Linked DNA regions of Homo sapiens: all the other regions are linked to region 6. Evidence: promoter capture Hi-C in 16 types of primary human blood cells and fetal thymus (Javierre and others, 2016). All regions are on one chromosome and are shown on one strand. Each heading gives the region's core, a stretch centred on a gene start or on the middle of the fragment in contact. The rest is flanking DNA. Distances are from core to core; before and after follow the strand shown. Region 1 has its middle 13 kb from the start of RPUSD4. Region 2 overlaps FAM118B (family with sequence similarity 118 member B). Region 3 holds the start of FEZ1 (fasciculation and elongation protein zeta 1). Region 4 overlaps FAM118B (family with sequence similarity 118 member B). Region 5 has its middle 18 kb from the start of FEZ1. Region 6 holds the start of PUS3 (pseudouridine synthase 3).

Region 1 (2,700 bases), core at 9-2,508, 300 kb before region 6:
CTAGGTACAGTGGCTATCTTTTTTTTTTTTTTTTTTTTTTTTTTGAGACAGAATTTCACTCTTGTTGCCCAGGCTGGAGTGCAATGGCGTGATCTCCACTCCCCACAACCTCTGCCTCCCGAGTTTAAGCGATTCTCCTGCCTCAGCCTCCCGAGTAGCTGGGATTACAGGCATGTGCCACCATGCCCGGCTAATTTTGTATTTTTAGTAGAGATGGGGTTTCTCCATGTTGGTCAGGCTGGTCTCAAACTCACAACCTCAGGTGATCCACCTGCCTCAGCCTCCTAAAGTGCTGGGATTACAGGCATGAGCCGCCGTGCCTGGCCCAGTGGCTATCTTTAATTACTGACAATAATATAAGAGGAATTTTACCCCAGGTTAGTGTGGCCTGAGAAATGGGTTACACAGCAAAGGAGGTTGGAATGTGCCTAAAATGAACTGCATCTATTTTGAAATACTGATTAGAGCCAGCTAAAAGATATGATTTAGTGTTAAGTCATATACAGTAATTAGTATAAGAAAATGGGCTTCTTAAATTTCTATTTTTATCAAAGTTCTATGTGCACATGATTTAAAAAATCAAGAACTATTCTGCTCAAATGACTCTGGTTAAAAAAAGAATAAGAAAAAATCAAAATGAAAAATCAAGAACTAAAGGCTTGCCATGAAAAGCAGCAGCTCCTTGCCCACGTAGGGATTTTGTTTGCTGTGAGCTCTGGGAGGTGCTTGTGCTCAGCAGAGGGGGGAGGCCGGCTCTCCCAGTGCCCCTTCTGGTGGCAGCACTGGCTCTTCTGCTCCAGGAGGCAGCTTTTGGGTAGCTGGTTTTTTTCTGTGCTAGGCATGCCCAACCTAATAAGCCCACAGAGCACTTTCTCAATCCTCGTATCACACGTCTTTGCATTTGATAACCGAATTGCCCACTCTGAGCTCCTCACTCGCTTTGATTCCATGAACTCCTCCTGCATCTCCTTGTCTGACCTCCTTCCAGGCTCCTTGAAGGGCCCCAGCATGGTGCCCCCCAGAGCTCCATCTTGGCATCCTGCCCCTCTCCCAGAGGGAGAGCTGGGCCAACTTGGGAAGCCTCTACCTGTGTGCTGACGACTCGCTAGTCTGTCTCTGACCTTGATCTCCCCCTTGAGCTCCTTATCTTCACATCCATCTGCCTGTGATCGTCTCCCCTTGGGAGCTCCCTCTCCGGGCCTGTTGCTCCTGTCCTCTTACCTGCCTTAGTTTAGATGGCATCACCAGAGACCTGGGAATCACCCTTAACTCCTCCCTCGCACCAGTCCCCAAATCCAATTAGCCACTAATTCTTTGCCAGTTCCATCTAAAACCCTTCTCTTAAAATGCACTTCCCTCTTTAATTCTAATATCTCCTGAGCACCAATTTCACCGTCCCCACCCTTCAGCTATGATGGGATAGGTCTGGGAGGTGGAAGGGCATAGTGGGTTAGAAATAGGATCATAGGCAACCTGCTAGTTCCCACCAGAAACCAAACTCACAACGGGGTGTTGAGACCATCCCCAGGTTCCTGGGGATAGAGCAGTGTGGGAGGGGGTACCTGTTTTAAACAAGACAGGCAAATAGAGCAGCCTCCCACCATGTTTTCTAGGTCTGCTCTCCTTGGCTCTCTGGACTGCTTTTAGCCAGAGTGCCTGGTAGGATATACAAAAACATGGCCTCCTGCTTGTGCTTGTGCAAAGCATGCCATGTGGGTGCAGACAGCTTCTCCCAGTGCGGAGCAAAATCTGCTGGCTCAGGGCAATGTAATTCAAACACCAGCTACCCAGCGTTAGGCCAGATGTCACAAGTTAATGGCACATTCCACAGGACTTGCCTCACTTCAGACACCAGCTGCAAGCTCTGGGGTTTTCCAGCCACCTGTACTTCTGACCAACTAGCTATGAATTCAAGAGTGTTCACAAACCCCTCAGGTTTGATCATTCACTAGAATGACTCCCAGAACTCAGCAAAGCACTAGCTATGCTTACTATTATGGTTTTGCTGTAGCAATAAAATGATATGAATCAGGACCAGCTAAAAGAAGAGATGCATGGGCAAGGTCTGGGAGAGTCTCCAGCATGAAGCTACCGTGTCCTCTGCCCACCGTGTCACCCTCCCAACACATGGATGTGCATCACCAGCCAGGAATGTCACCCAAGCCCTGGTGTCCAGAGTTTTTATTGGGGTTTCATTATGTTGTCGTGGTTGAACAATTGGCTACATTGTTGAACTCGGTTCTGCTGGGTTCAAAGTGCCAACCCTCTAATCACATGGTCGGTCTTTTTGCATGGCCAGCCTGAAACTACCCATCCTGAAACTAAAGCCCCACCGTGAGTCCTCACATTTAATAGCGTAAACTATTAGGGCTCATCATGAATAACAAAAAATGTTAACATCACTTGGGAAATTCCAAGGATTTAGGTTCTCTCTCCCAGGAACCAAGGACGAAAGCAAGGCAAATTATTATAGAACTCTGAGTTTTCCTCTCCATCCCCCACTCCCTTAGGCGTCTCTTGATGTCCTCTCTTAGGGATCCCTTCATCTTGCTGTCCCCCAGCGAGTGACCAGCCTAGGTGGCTGTCTGCATAGATGCCCCTGTTGGTTGTGGCCTTAGGATCCTTTCAGGCAAGAAGCCTTGAGATATTTCTGTTCACTTCCCTCCTGGCACCTGCTGTGGAACACTGTCATCTGCTGCC
Region 2 (2,700 bases), core at 126-2,625, 360 kb before region 6:
CAAAATAAAATACGGTAGCACTAGCCATATGCAGCTACTTGGTTTCAAATTAAAAATTCCATTCCTCAGTCACACTGGCCACATTTCAACGGTGCACCAGCCACATGTGGCTCCTAACTATGATACTAGACAGTGAAGATTATACAGTATTTTTATGACTGCAGGAAATTCTACTGGATAACACTTGGCATAGATAATAGTTCAGAAAAAGTAAAAAGCTGAACACATGGAAGAAAATAGTCATTAGAAATATGGTCAATTACAGTATAAACAGGCATGGTACTCAAATATACAAATTGATATTACCCTCGTAGAAAACAATTTAGCAGTATTTATAAATTACTGAAATGTTCCTGATCTTTGACCTGATTACAGTGAGAACTCATCAAGGAAATTACTGGAAAAACTGAAGAGATACAGATGTTATTTTCACAACATGACTTACAAAAAACTGGCAAAAAAAATATCAGACGTTGCCTAACAGGAATAATTAGGTAAACTGTAACACCCCTACTGGAATATAAAAGTCAATTAAAATAGTGGTTATGAAGATAGGGATGTGGGAAAATGTACAATCCACTACTGAATTTTCAAAGGACCAAAAAAAAAAAAAAATCACTATATTTTGTTTACAACTATGAAAAAAAGCACAGGGAAAACTTCATCAGAAATGTGCCAAGGCCAGGTGCTGTGGCTCACACCTATAATCCCAGAACTTTGGGAAGCTGAGGTGGGAGGATTGCTTGCACTTAGGAGACTGAGAACAGCCTGGGCAACATGGCGAAACCCCATCTCTACAAAAAATACAAAAATTAGCTGGGCATTGTGGTATGTGCCTTTAGTCTCAGCTACTCGGGAGGCTGAGGTGGGAGGATCGCCTGAGCCCGGGGAGGTCAAGGCTGTGGTGAGCCATGACTGTGCCATTGTACTGCAGCCTGGGTGAAAAAGCAAGACCCTGTATCAAAAATAGTAATAATAATAAAATAAAAATAAAGCTGGCACAGTGGCTCACGCCTGTAATCCCAGCACTTTGGGAGGCTGAGGTGGGTGGATCACGAGGTCAGGAGATCGAGACCATCCTGGCTAACACAGTGAAACGCTGTATCTACTAAAAATACAAAAAATTAGCCGGGTGTGGTGGCGGGCGCCTTTAGTCCCAGCTACTCGGGAGACTGAGGCAGGAGAATGGCGTGAACCCAGGAGGCAGAGCTTGCAGTGAGCTGAGATTGCGCCACTGCACTCTAGCCTGGGTGACAGAGAGAAACTCCATCTCAAATCAATAAATAGGCCCGGGCATGGTGGCTCACGCCTGTAATCCCAGCACTTTGGGAGGCCAGGGCGGGTGGATCATGAGGTCAGGAGACCGAGACCATCCTGGCCAACATGGTGAAACCCCATCTCTACTAAAAATACAAAAAATTAGCCGGGCATGGTGGTGGGCGCCTATAGTTCCAGCCACTCAGGAGGCTGAGGCAGGAGAATCACTTGAACCCAGGAGGCGGGGGTTGCAGTGAGCCGAGATTGTGCCACTGCACTCCAGCCTGGCGTCAGAGCGAGACTCCATCTCAAAAAAAAAAAAAAAAAAAGTACCACAACGACTGCTTGTATGGTAATGGATTATAAGAATTATTTTTCTTTTTCCCACTGCTTGATTTTTCCAAAATATGTGTAACTACATACTATAGAATCCTTTGAAGACAATTAATTTCCACTATGCAAAAGTGAGTATACAGCACAATGCCAGGCACATAGCAAAGGTTCAGTGTTAAAAAACAAAATAACAGCAAAAGACCTGTAACCTCTCATTAGTCTATATCTACAGAGACTCAAAACATTATGCAAGGGTGAAAGATAAGGTTGACTCGTTTCAAAATGAAATGATGTTTTAACCTGAAACTGCTCTACTACATTTCACATGACAAACTCAGCTGACCATTCCCATAAAGCACTCTGGCCATACTGAAAATCCTTGATTTTGTTTAAAGATACAGAACACCTTAATGATGGGTAACTTCGGGGAAAGCTACTCTGGTAGGAAGCCTACACAGCTAATAAAAGAATTTGTGCCATTCCACAATAGCAGTTAAGGTTCCTTAGAGCAATCTTAGTGCACTAAGGAACCTTACTGCTTCTTTGTTATGTAATGCAACAGTCTAAAGACATATTTATTTTTTGCTAAGATTTAGTGCAACAGAAACAGTTATGCAGACGGATTTTGCTGTTTTAAACTTTAGCATCTTTCCTCAGCATATAGATCAAAAGAAATATGTAGAACTTGGATATGTATGTCTTGTTAATGAAAACAACATGTGCAACAGAAAAGCCTTCTCAAAGTCTCAAGTGTGGGCAAACAACAGCAGGAGAGTCTAGAACACTGCAGGACACCAGAAAAACTCATTTCCAACAAAGAATAGTAAATAGTTTTCACAAATGAGACTTGTTCATGTGGTGATGGCTTTTAAAAGTCTGGTTCCATCAAAGCATAGCCATGGAAGAAGCTGTGTAATTTTTCATTACAGGAGAATTCTACTTGAAGCCATCTGATTCAGTTAAGAAATCTGGGGATGATTTGATTTAGGAAAACTGCTTTATGTTTATTAAATTACCTGTATGTTATTTATTTTAGAAACAGCGTCTTGCTTTATTGCTCAGACTGTAGGGCAGTGATGCAATCATAGCTCACTGCAGACTCCAACTCCT
Region 3 (2,700 bases), core at 41-2,540, 410 kb after region 6:
TACTTTTGAGACAAGGTCTTGCTGTCGCCCAGGCTGGAGTGCAGCTTCAACCTCTTGGGCTCAAGCGATCCTCCCACCTCATCCTCCAGTGTAGCTGGGGCTACCAGGATGGGCTACCAGGATGGGCCCACCATGCCTGGCTAATTTTTTTTTTTTTATAGAGATGGGGTCTCACTATGTTGCCTAGGCTGGTCTTGAACTCCTGGCCTCAAGTGATCCTCCTGCCTCAGCTTTCCAACATGTTGGGATTATAGGTGTGAGCCACCGTGCCTGGCCTTATGATTTCTTACAGGAAGACATCCTCTGTCTATTGCTCCCACAAAGGCAAATAGGCCAACGCTTCTTCTCATCTCATTGGGACATTATTCCTGTTTCCATCCTTCTCATGGTTGAAATGTCTGTGGAATGAATGCATAAACGAGCAAAAGAGACGCTCCCTGCCCCTTCCAGTTGAAGTCCTCAGTTCAGCCCAGAGGTACTTTGCCATCAGACAAAAGTACTTGGGGTTCTCCAAGCCGACATGCTTTTTCCAGTGCCTTCCTTCGATAATTACAGTTCTTGTGCTCTTAGTTGTGTGTATTCGTGAATTATTAGATTTTTTATTGACAACTTCTATAAGCACAGGCCTATGCACAGTAGACAAGATAAATTAATAATTTTTCACAAGACTCCAGGGACCCTTCTCATTTCAGCCTCTTGAATTTTCCTGTATTATCTCAAGTCCTCCTGGGCCTGAAACCTTCTCACTCAGATTTTTCAGCTGGATCCAGCTCCCACCCAGCATCTTTGGGCGAGAAAAGCTCTCCTGCCGGCCTCCTCATTTTTGGCTTGAGGTCCGAACCCAGTTGGAGCTGGGAGACGTCGCTGGGCCTGCCCGCCTCAGCCTCCAGTAGAGGAGAATGGGAAACTCGGAAAGTCCAAAAGGGTCTTTGAGTGTGTCTGCCGGCATCCGCCAGCAGCCATCGCCTGCATTTTATCCAGAAACTAGTGTCAGGCTTTGCGAGGTATCCATATTGGTAGTTATTGCACGCTTTCATCTTGGAGTTTCTGAATATTCATGAGGGAAGCAGAAAGGCCAATGTTAAAGAGGAGAGAAACAGAAATGCATAAATATTAATAAAGGCAAGCCCACGTGCTCGGAGGAAGGCTATGAATGTTAACGAGGGGATGACGTCCAGCTCCCGCGCGTGCCAGTTGGGTGGGTGCCCGAGCGCGGGCGCGCCCCCGGAGCCCGGGCACGAGCGCGGGGAAGGGGTGGGGTGGAGGCGGGAGCGGAGCCGGGCGCCGCCGGAGCTGCGCGGGGAGCGCTCGCTGGCTGGCTGGCTGGCTGGCTCTCCGCTGCGCTGCGCTGCGCTCCGGCCGCTCCCGCGGCCCGTGGATGGGGGTGTCCGGCTGAGCCCCGGGATCCGCCTCCCTCCGCCAGGACCCGCACAGGTGCCGTCGCGGGGGTTGACTTTAGTTAGGACCCGACTCACTGCTGGGGGTGGGGTCTGGTGGGGGTGGTAAGGAGGCCCCGGGATTCTCTGACAGGACGGTCTGGGGTCGCCGCAGCTCCCCTCACCTGGTCCCATTCTGGGATTAGAAAGGAACAACGGGAGGCCGTCGCCTTCCTGCCCAGCCCTTCAGGGAGCGCAGCTGGGACGCCGCGCCAGGCCCTGGAGATGTGGGATGATGGGCACTTCCAGTATCATCTCAGCATCGGCCCTCCAGCCAGGCCTGGTGTGTGTGTGTGTGTGTGTGTGTGTGTGTGTGTGTCCGCGTGTGTGTGCCCGCGTGTGTGCGCGCGTGTGAAGGCAGGGCGGCGAGGTATGGGGGCTGGGGGAAGAAGGGAACGCCGCCCGATCGCGCTGGGGCAGTGGGTCGGTACCTCGTCCCGGGACCGTTATCTGGTCCAGTCACCGTAAACGCCCCAAGATCATCTTTGTCCCTAAAAACTTACCCCCGACCCCGCTCGTGCCCCTCCCCAGAGTGCGGAGCCTTCCCCAGACCGCGCATTCCTGCAGTGTCAGAACCGCTGGCAGCGGCCGCAGACGCCGGGAGAGCGATTGTTTTACTACAGACGGGCGGGAGAAGGGACCGGGGCGGCTGCGCGGTGGCGGGGCGCGCTGCCGTCGGGTGGGCCCCGGGCTCTGGAATGCGGGGAGCAGTGTTTGACGGCGTCGAGGAGGTATCACAGCCCGCTCTTCTTCCCTTTTGCCTATCCCTTCTCTCCTCGCCGCTAGGCATCCCCGACTCTCATCCCTCTCCCGTGTCCGGGCTTGTTTGGCCGGAAGGGCAGTGGAGTGTGTATGCGGCCTGCACGGGATGAGTCCGGCTTCCTCAGAGTGCCAGCCATTGTGCTGCCTGGAGGAGGCTTTCTTTACCCCACCGGACTGGGGGGAGGAGGGGGATCTGAGATGGAGGTGAATGGAGCAGCGGGAGGAGGGGGAGGGGAGCAAGCAGAACCGCGAAGGGGTTGCTGATCCATATGCAACGAAATACTTTTTCTGTCAAAATGTGCACAAACATGCACACTGGGTGGGTTCTGCGGAGGAGCAGTGGGAAATCTGAAGGTGGATCAGTGCAGGGTAGGTTTTAGGGACGGATATGGGGGACGAGGCACGGAATCAGTTGATCTATGGACCAAGTGATGGGAAGAAGGAGATGGAATGGGGCTTGTGTGGAGGTGCCGAGGCCCAGCGGGGTTAGCGTGGTGAAATC
Region 4 (2,700 bases), core at 26-2,525, 330 kb before region 6:
ACTAAAAAGCAGCAATATATATAGTATTTTCAAACATGGATGTCAACATTAGAAGAAACAGGTAAAGTTGAAAGTGATTATCTCTGAGGAAGGGCGGACTTTGAAATACTGATTTTAAAAACTATGTACCTGTACTGCCTTGATAAAAAATAAAAATTAAACCCAAAATAAAAACAATTTAATTTTGAGTATGAAGGTCAATACTAATTAGTGAAAACAACTGATATAGAAGGTATAAGTTGGCTATTTTTCTTTCTCTCCCACTAATGGTAATTTACTCTGCTGATTCCCTTCTCTTGTTTACCTGGGCTTTTTGGTGGGAGGTTCGCCATCGTTGAAGAATCCAAAAATCTCGTCTATATCAGAGGCCTGGCTCCCTGTAGAAGCCATCCAGTTTCTAAAATAGATTAAACACCATGAACCACAATTAGATCTGTAAAGTATACTATTCAAAATAGCACATATATTAAACAGTTTAAAAAAGCTGTATACCCTTAAAGGTGTTTTGGAGGTGCCCCCTACTTAACAGAAATTTGTTAATTAATGAACATTCTAAACAAGGAGCTAAATTAAATTAGTCTAAAAGAAGTAATCTGGAAATTATAGGACTTTGGTGCTCCATACTACCATCTTGCTTCTGTTTCTGAAGGCCTGCCCCCAAGTTCCCACCAAAAACAGTGTCAACTCATGTCAATTACTGGCCATCACTTTGTAGAACTTAAGAAAAACCAGTTATTCTCCCACAAGATGGGTTTGCGGAAGACTCAGGGGATAAAAACCACCCATAGATAAGTGTATTAATAGCCCCCAATTACCCATTTACTCTCAGCTGAAGAAATTACTGAGTCAAGAACAGAACAATCAATACTAATTTGCTGAATGACATTCTCTGTTGTTGGACGATGGTGACCTTGTAGCCAGTGGGGCATGTCTCTCTAACTAAACATGAAGTGGACTTCAAATCAAGCCACTGTGATGACTGGTAAATGTATCATCAAGCAAAGATGTATGAAAAATGGCCAATTATGTTCGGGTGCTGGAATAACTGGCAAAAGTAAATAATTACCATGGATTAGAATGAATACTATAAAGTTCTAAGTGCTCAAACTTTGGCAAACTTGTTAAATCTAAAGACTGTGAATTTAAAAATAGTAATAGTATTTTAAACACACACACAATATAGAAGACAATACATACTACCACCGTTTGGGGTGTTTTAGTACATTCCACTGGCAACATATAGAACTGAATTACTAATAATTACTGCAAGTTTACTGTTTTATTAGAAAGCCCTTTTCTTTTCTTTTTTTGAGACTGGGTCTTGCTCTGTTGTCCAGGCTAGAGTACAGTGGCGCCATCTTGGCTCACTGCAGTCTCGGCCTCCTGGGCTCAAGCGATCAACCCACCTCAGCCTCTCCATCACCTGGGACTACAGGCACATGCTACCACATCTGGTGGAATTTTGTACTGTTTGTAGAGAGGGGGTTTTGCCATGTTGCCCAGCTGGTCTCTAACTCCTGAGCTCAAGTAATCTTCCAGCCTTGGCCTCCCAAAATGTTGGGATTACAGGCATGAGCCACTGCACCCAGCCCAAAAAAGCCTTTTTCTTTATTAAAACACTAAGTTTCTGAATTAATTTTTTGTGGTAAACAGAAGGCTCACATCCTCACCCCATAGTCCATCACACGCAGTGTAATTCTTCTTTATATCATAATCATAAGGTAAATAGAAATAATACAGTCACAGTAGTGAGTTAGGAAGTAGATCATGTTTCCAGTCAAATCTTTGATTCTGTTGGTGAGAAAGCTGGGGCTCAGGAGAAGACAGATGAGTCACTTATCTCAGTAAATCCTGCCTTAACACAACCATGTAGGTTTTTCTGGGTTTTTTGTTTTGTTTTGTTTTTGAGACAGAGTTTTGCTCTTGTTGCCCAGCCTGGAGTGCACTGGCGCAATCTCGGCTCACTGCAACCTCCGCCTCCTGGCAGTTGCTCCCTTCAAGCAATCCTCCTGCCTCAGCCTCCTGAGTAGCTGGGATTACAGGCATGCGCCACTATGCCCAGCTAATTTTGTATTTTTAGTAGAGACAGAATTTCTTCATGTTGATCAGGCTGGTCTCGAACTCCTGACCTCAGGTGATCCGCCCGCCTCAGCCTCCCAAAGTGTTGGGATTACAGGTGTGAGCCACCGCACCCAGCTGGGATGTTTGTTAAAAGTATATATATTCTTGAAAATAAAGTTAATTCATTAAATTAAAAAAGTTTGTTTCTAGGCTCTACTCCAAAATTACAGAATCAGATTCTCCAGAATCTTCCTTCAAATAGGAAACACCTAAATAAGATGCAAACTTAATTTTTCTACAATGCAACAATTTTGTTAAATATAGGATGCACATGAAGTATACCATTAAGCCATCTTCCCTTAAGTGTAATAACTTATTACAGTCTAACGACTTCCCAGTTTGCTTATAACAATAGCCAGGTTTTAAGTGTCCTTAAAATATTTTTATGAAGTTTTAACTTATGTGACTCACTTCCGATTCTAAAAGTCAACGCTCTAGAATGGTGAACTAGGGGTAGAATGTGTTTACTTCTTCCACACACAGGACAATCCATTAGTTTGGGGATATATATTTTTTTAAGTTTTTTTAAGGAAAAAATATATTTTTTTAAAAAAAAATATTTTTTAAGTTTTAAAAAAA
Region 5 (2,700 bases), core at 153-2,652, 390 kb after region 6:
GTAGAGATGGGGTCTTGCTATGTTGGCCAGTCTGGTCTTGAACTCCAGGATTTAAGCAATCTTCCTGCTTTGGCATTCCAAAGTGCTGGGATTATAAGCATGAGCCACAGCATCCAGCCACACTTTTTTTTTTTTTTTTTTTGAGATGGAGTTTTGCTCTTGTTGCCCAGGCTGGAGTGCAATGGCGCAATCTTGGCTCACTGCAACCTCCGCCTCCCAGGTTCAAGTGATTCTCCTGTCTCATCCTCCCAAATAGCTGGGATTACAGGCATGTGCCACCCCATTTGGCTAATTTTGTATTTTTAGTAGAGACAGAGTTTCTCCGTGTTGGTCAGGCTGGTCTTGAACTCCCGACCTCAGGTGATCCGCCTGCCTCGGCCTCCCAAAGTGCTGAGATTACAGGCGTGAGCCACCACGCCCAACCAGCCACCCTTTTAAACTACACAATTCAGTGGCTTTTAGTATAGTCACAGAGTTGTGCAACAATCACATAACTACTTCCTTTTACTATCTACCACAATTTAATTTTAGTGCATTTTCATCATCCCACCCCCCGCCACACACACACCCTGCCAAACTAAAGAAACCACACATCCGTTAGCAGTCACTCTCCACAGCCCCTGGCAACCACCAATCTACTTTATGTTTCTATTGTGAAAAGAAATTACATTTTGGGACCCCAGAGTCATTTAGCCAAAGGGAAAAGTCAAAAATCAGATATGCATTTGTGTCTGGCAGGCCTGTACCTGTAAAGATAACCTATCAATTTGCATGCCACAGTGATGTTTTAGCAGCTCACCAGGAATTTCCTTGTGGGCAAAATATGGGGAAATTCCCAGTGAGCTGTTAAAACGTCACTATGGCAATGCAAATTGTTAGGTCATCTTTACAGGTGCAGGCCTGCCAGACACAAATGAATATCTGATTTTTCCCCTACTCCATTTTGTCTGTGTTATCTTATGTAAAATGCAGATTCCCCACATTTTTCCTTTGCCCCTTTTGCTTATGTGAAAACTGTGTGCTTCTCAATATCCCACCCTTTCCCCCTTAAATTTGGAGCCTCAAAATCATCTTCAGAGAAAGGCATAGACCTGTCTCCAGGATGCGTCCTTAACTTTGGCAAATAAATCTAAAATGATTGAGACTTGTCTCATCATTTTCTTCAATTGACACTATGTAGACATTTCATGTACATGAAATTACGTACCATGTGCCTTTCTGTGTCTGCTGTCTTTCACTCAACATAATGCTTTCAAGCTTATCTGTGTTGTAGCATTGTATCAGTATTTTGTTCTTTTTATGGCTGAATGACATTTCATTGCATGGATATACCACAATTTGTTTATCCATTTATCCCTTGATGGACATTTGGGTTTGTAGGAGTGAAAGGAACTCTCCTTCCACCCTTTAAAGGCTCGATAATCTCTGGAATAAACTTGACAGTAGACAGATTAACAGGAGAAAAGGCATACAAATTTATTACATGCATATGTATAGGAGTTCCACAAAATATGAGACACAAAGGAGGGCCAGATGGTTGAAGCTTAAATAGCATTGTGAGCTACAGAAAAAATTAGCTTGGCACAGTGGCTCACACCTGTAATCCTAGCACTTTGGGAAGCTGAGGTGGGAGGATGGCTTGAGCCCAGTAGTTCCAGATCAGCCTGGCCAATGTGGCAAAACCCTATCTCTACCAAAAATGCAAAACTTAGCTGGGTGTGGTGGCATGCCCCTGTAGTTCCAGCTACTCAGGTGGCTGAGGTAGGAGGATCACTTGAACCAGGGAGATCAAGGCTGCAGTGAGTACAGTGAGCTGTAATTGCACCCACTGCACCCCAACCTAGACAACAGAGTGAGACCCTGTCTCAAAAAAAAAAAAAAAAAAAAAAAGAATTAGAAGCTTAAAGACTCCTGGAGGGTGGTGGCAACAAGCTGTGGGAGAGTGAGGGGAGGAAGAGCACTGCAAGCAAAGGTTGTCTTATTATGCAGAAGAAGTCTCTCAGGTAGCTCTCAGAAGCATAAGTGAAAAGTCTGTCTGGGCATGATGTCCTAGATGTGGAGACATTTAGTCTCCTCTCTTAGAGATCATATAGATTCCAGGGAGTGAGTTCATGACACTTCATTTCTTCTGGAGGGATTTCTCTTAGTCAGATAAAGGAAATGTCAGAGAAAGTGCTTCCCTATGCTTTGGGAGAAAAAGAGAATCAAGACATAGTAAGCAGGGAAAGGTCAGAGAGACCTTGGTTCTGAGGCCCTTTCCTTTAAAAAATTTTGTTTTGCTTTTTTTTGTTGTTGTTGTTTTTTGTTGTTGTTTGTTTTTTTGAGACAGGATATTGTTCTGTCACCCAGGCTGGAGTGCAGTGGCACCATTACAGCTCCCTGCAGCTTCACCCTCCCAGGCTCAAGTGATTCTCCCACCTCAGCCCCCCAGGTAGCTGGGACCACAGGCATGTGCCACCATGTCCAGCCCATTTTTAAATTTTTTTGTAGAGACAGGATCTCACTATGTAGCCCAGGCTGGTCTTAGGCTCCTGGGCTCAAACAATTCTTCCCACCTTGGCCTCCCAAAATGCTAGGATTACAGGTGTGAGCCATTGTACTCTGCCAGAGGCTGCTTCTTTAGTTCAAAGTACTCAGCATTTCAAAATGCCATATTTTCTGACCCCCAAAAGGTTGTTTCAACTTTTTTGGTTATGATGA
Region 6 (2,700 bases), core at 113-2,612:
CGCTCGCTCTCCGCCGCCCCTGCGTCGCCTCCCCACAGTAACGACGCCATGGCTGCGATTGCTGCTCCCGCCCCCAGCACGTGCTTCCACCACCGGCGCGAGGCGGTGCTGGCCCCATCCGCTGGCCAATGGGCTTCCTTAGGGGGCAGGCGTCCGCGTCCGCGCCCGCGACCACCGCGGTGCGGCGCGCAGGCGCTGGAAGGCTGGGTGGCGCGCGGAAGGGGCGGAGGGCAGAGAGCGGGGCGGGGGGCAGAGAGCGGGGCGGAGGGCAGAGAGCGGGGCGGAGGGCAGAGAGCGGGGCGAAAGGGCGCGGACCGGAGGGCAGAGGGGGCAGCTTCCGCAGAGTGGAGAGCGCCCCCCGCGCCGCCCCGCGGCCCGCCGCTCACACAGCCCTCCAGGCGGGAGCCCCCCGGACTCCCCGCCGCGCTTTACGCCCCGTGTCGGTTTCCCTGGAAATTTCCGCCTCCACATCACAAGATGTCAGAAAGGTTAGCGAATTGGTTAGCAAAGTGGAGACAAAATCTGATGAATTTGATATGACGAATGACCTCGAATGCCACAGTTGCGGAAAGGAAGCAGAACTGTTCAAGCTCTAACTGCTGTTCCTGCCCTAGATACCTGTGATGTTCCACATAGGCTTTTTAAAGCTTTTATTCTGAAATGTGGTCTCTTGTTAAAAACATTACCTTTCGGTATAACCTCTACGTCCTACATGCGTTTGCATAATCCGGTATAGATCCCTGGATCCCTGGTACTAATGATTTAATGACCGCTCAATTTGGACGAAAGAACCAAATTCCACCTCCCCCCCGCCCCCCAGTTTTCTAATTGTAATTTTGAGATTTTGATCAGCATTTCTGGAATTGGGGGCAAAAATACAAAAACCCACACGAAACTGCAGTCATGATCTCTCCGTGGTGCTGAAGCAACGCTCCCCGCTCTGTTCGGTCACTCTCAGGGCACCTAGTCGTTTGTTTTGAGATTATCATATTCATTTCAGCTTTTAATTTGAATTCTAATAGTAAATGTTTTTGTCTCTCAATGGTAACTTTCTTCTCATTTAACTAGGTATAAAATCGAGCCAAGATCTTCAATCTTTTAGTTTTCGTATAAGGATAGCAGAATTTGAAAAATTACCTTTTTTCTATTATTTTAGCGTAGCACTACAATTCCTCCTTTTATTGCTGTCCCGCCACAGGCCCAGATTCTGCCCTGTGGGCGGAGAAACGGTAGCTGGACTAGAAAACCTCAGGTAGATTCTAGCACCAAGCTCGGTTCTCAGAACTACATTTCCCACAAACTTGGACTACACCTCCCATGAGGGCTCGGGCGCCTGCGCAGAAGACGCACAGTGACAGCTTCCTTTCTCGGAAACGCGGCGCGGCCGGCTGCCGGAAAGTAAGTGTGGGATTTTTGGAGTGGGTTACTTTCTGGGTTCCACAGGGGAAGGGACAAATGGACACACTGCTGAACGGTTGTCTGTTGTCTTCTTTTTGCCCTCTTTCACATACTTTGGTCTTTTCAGGAAAGCATTGCCGTATGGAAATGAGACCTCGCTTAAGACCATGTATTTTTCTTTTGTGCCTGGTACTTTCTGGAGCTCTCGGTGGAAACTCGCCGCAGTAGGGTCGTCTTTAATTCCGTTGTGACGGGAGCTTCAGTGGTACTTGTACTGTGGAGTACAAAAGTGCTCTGCTGCCCCACTTAGAATTGGGTGCTCATAAAACAGTAGAAGTTGAGAACCCAGGAGTATGTGGGAGGCTGTGGCAGCAATTTTCAAATTATTTTGGGGATTGCCTTACATACAGACCACGATTGCTTTCTAGTGATCATAGTGCGTGTCTGCTAATCCTTTGGACAGTACTCCCTCTTCTTCCCTTTGGATTAATATAAAGTTTATCAAGAGGAATGCTATTTATGTGTTAACCCACTGGTTCCTGAGATTAGGACTTTTTTTTTTTTTTTTTTAAGACTGTCGCCCAGGCTGAGTGAAGTGGCGTGATCACTGCTCACTGCAGCCTCTACCTCCTGGGCTCAAGCGATCCTTCCACCTCAGCCTCCAACTAGCTGGGACTGCAGGCGTGCGCCATCTTGGCAGCCTAGTTTTTAATTTTTTAATTAACACACGGTCTCGCTGTGTTGCCCAGGTTGGTCTCGAACTCCTGACTTCGAGCGACCCCCCCTCCCCCCCGCCACCACCCCGTCTTGGCCTCTCAAAATGTTGGGATGACAGGCGTGAGCCACGGCGCCTGGCCCAATGTATGGAACATCTGGTGATGGCCGTTTTAGTTTGTAATTGGTGCTTAGGGGACACACGAATTCCCTCTCTGTGGTTACTTCGCAGCCCTGGCCAGGGTGTTACTTTAAACGTCTGCTTGGGAACTCCTGCACTTCACCCTGAATTAGGGTAAGGTGTGCTGGAAAAAGCACTGTAGTGTACCAAGTCCTGTTTTTGCCACAAATCTGCCTTATGACCAACTAGACTCACTCCCTGGCCTAGTTCTTTAGTTAGCACGGGAGTTGAACTTTGGAGACTTTGGTAATGTTGGACTTTGAGATCCAAATAATCACTGGAGTGTTTTGCATGTTAAAATCACCATGTAATTTTTGACCTCATAAAAAGTCGAGGTATAAATACAAATTACCTTTAATCCCACTACTCGTTAGGTTTTGATCTTTCCCTGTGTGTACTGAGATCAT

What was found. The method cuts DNA at HindIII sites, captures the fragments that hold promoters and counts their contacts. A CHiCAGO score of 5 or more calls a contact.
Region 1: a fragment that was not itself captured here is called in contact with the fragment with the promoter of PUS3 in region 6 in 15 of 17 cell types (naive CD4 T cells, endothelial precursors, fetal thymus and 12 more); the score reaches 18.5 in naive CD4 T cells.
Region 2: a contact is called between a fragment that was not itself captured here and the fragment with the promoter of PUS3 in region 6, in 7 of 17 cell types (fetal thymus, naive CD4 T cells, non-activated CD4 T cells and 4 more). The highest score is 10.0, in fetal thymus.
Region 3: the fragment with the promoter of FEZ1 here is called in contact with the fragment with the promoter of PUS3 in region 6 in 1 of 17 cell types (total CD8 T cells); the score reaches 6.0 in total CD8 T cells.
Region 4: a fragment that was not itself captured here is called in contact with the fragment with the promoter of PUS3 in region 6 in 4 of 17 cell types (activated CD4 T cells, non-activated CD4 T cells, naive CD4 T cells and 1 more); the score reaches 5.6 in activated CD4 T cells.
Region 5: a fragment that was not itself captured here is called in contact with the fragment with the promoter of PUS3 in region 6 in 1 of 17 cell types (total CD8 T cells); the score reaches 5.1 in total CD8 T cells.

Annotation. Positions count from the first base shown.
Region 1 is chr11:126,196,866-126,199,565 of GRCh38, reverse strand. No RefSeq gene overlaps it. Among named protein-coding and RNA genes, the nearest start is that of RPUSD4, 13 kb to the left of the region's middle. The HindIII fragment of the contact is 5,671 bases long and covers 1-2,700 here.
Region 2 is chr11:126,258,312-126,261,011 of GRCh38, reverse strand. The region is part of intron 7 of FAM118B (family with sequence similarity 118 member B); the gene reads right to left. It also overlaps a transcript of SRPRA not described here. Among named protein-coding and RNA genes, the nearest start is that of SRPRA, 9.2 kb to the left of the region's middle. The HindIII fragment of the contact is 5,808 bases long and covers 1-2,700 here.
Region 3 is chr11:125,494,855-125,497,554 of GRCh38, reverse strand. It overlaps FEZ1 (fasciculation and elongation protein zeta 1), which reads left to right and starts at 1,290. Exons shown (of 10, transcript NM_005103.5): 1 at 1,290-1,434. LOC403312 (putative uncharacterized protein MGC39545) reads right to left here and starts at 2,341. Exons shown (of 2, transcript NR_164146.1): 1 at 1,940-2,341; 2 at 1-1,047. RefSeq lists a silencer at 1,103-1,352 and enhancers at 1,227-1,728, 1,729-2,232. The HindIII fragment of the contact is 4,219 bases long and covers 1-2,700 here.
Region 4 is chr11:126,232,692-126,235,391 of GRCh38, reverse strand. FAM118B (family with sequence similarity 118 member B) reads right to left here. Exons shown (of 9, transcript NM_024556.4): 3 at 305-397. The coding sequence starts at 390. Among named protein-coding and RNA genes, the nearest start is that of FAM118B, 22 kb to the right of the region's middle. The HindIII fragment of the contact is 4,780 bases long and covers 1-2,700 here.
Region 5 is chr11:125,512,568-125,515,267 of GRCh38, reverse strand. No RefSeq gene overlaps it. Among named protein-coding and RNA genes, the nearest start is that of FEZ1, 18 kb to the right of the region's middle. The HindIII fragment of the contact is 286 bases long and covers 1,260-1,545 here.
Region 6 is chr11:125,901,868-125,904,567 of GRCh38, reverse strand. PUS3 (pseudouridine synthase 3) reads left to right here and starts at 1,362. Exons shown (of 4, transcript NM_031307.4): 1 at 1,362-1,398. DDX25 (DEAD-box helicase 25) reads right to left here and starts at 60. Exons shown (of 12, transcript NM_013264.5): 1 at 1-60. The coding sequence starts at 50. The HindIII fragment of the contact is 3,679 bases long and covers 650-2,700 here.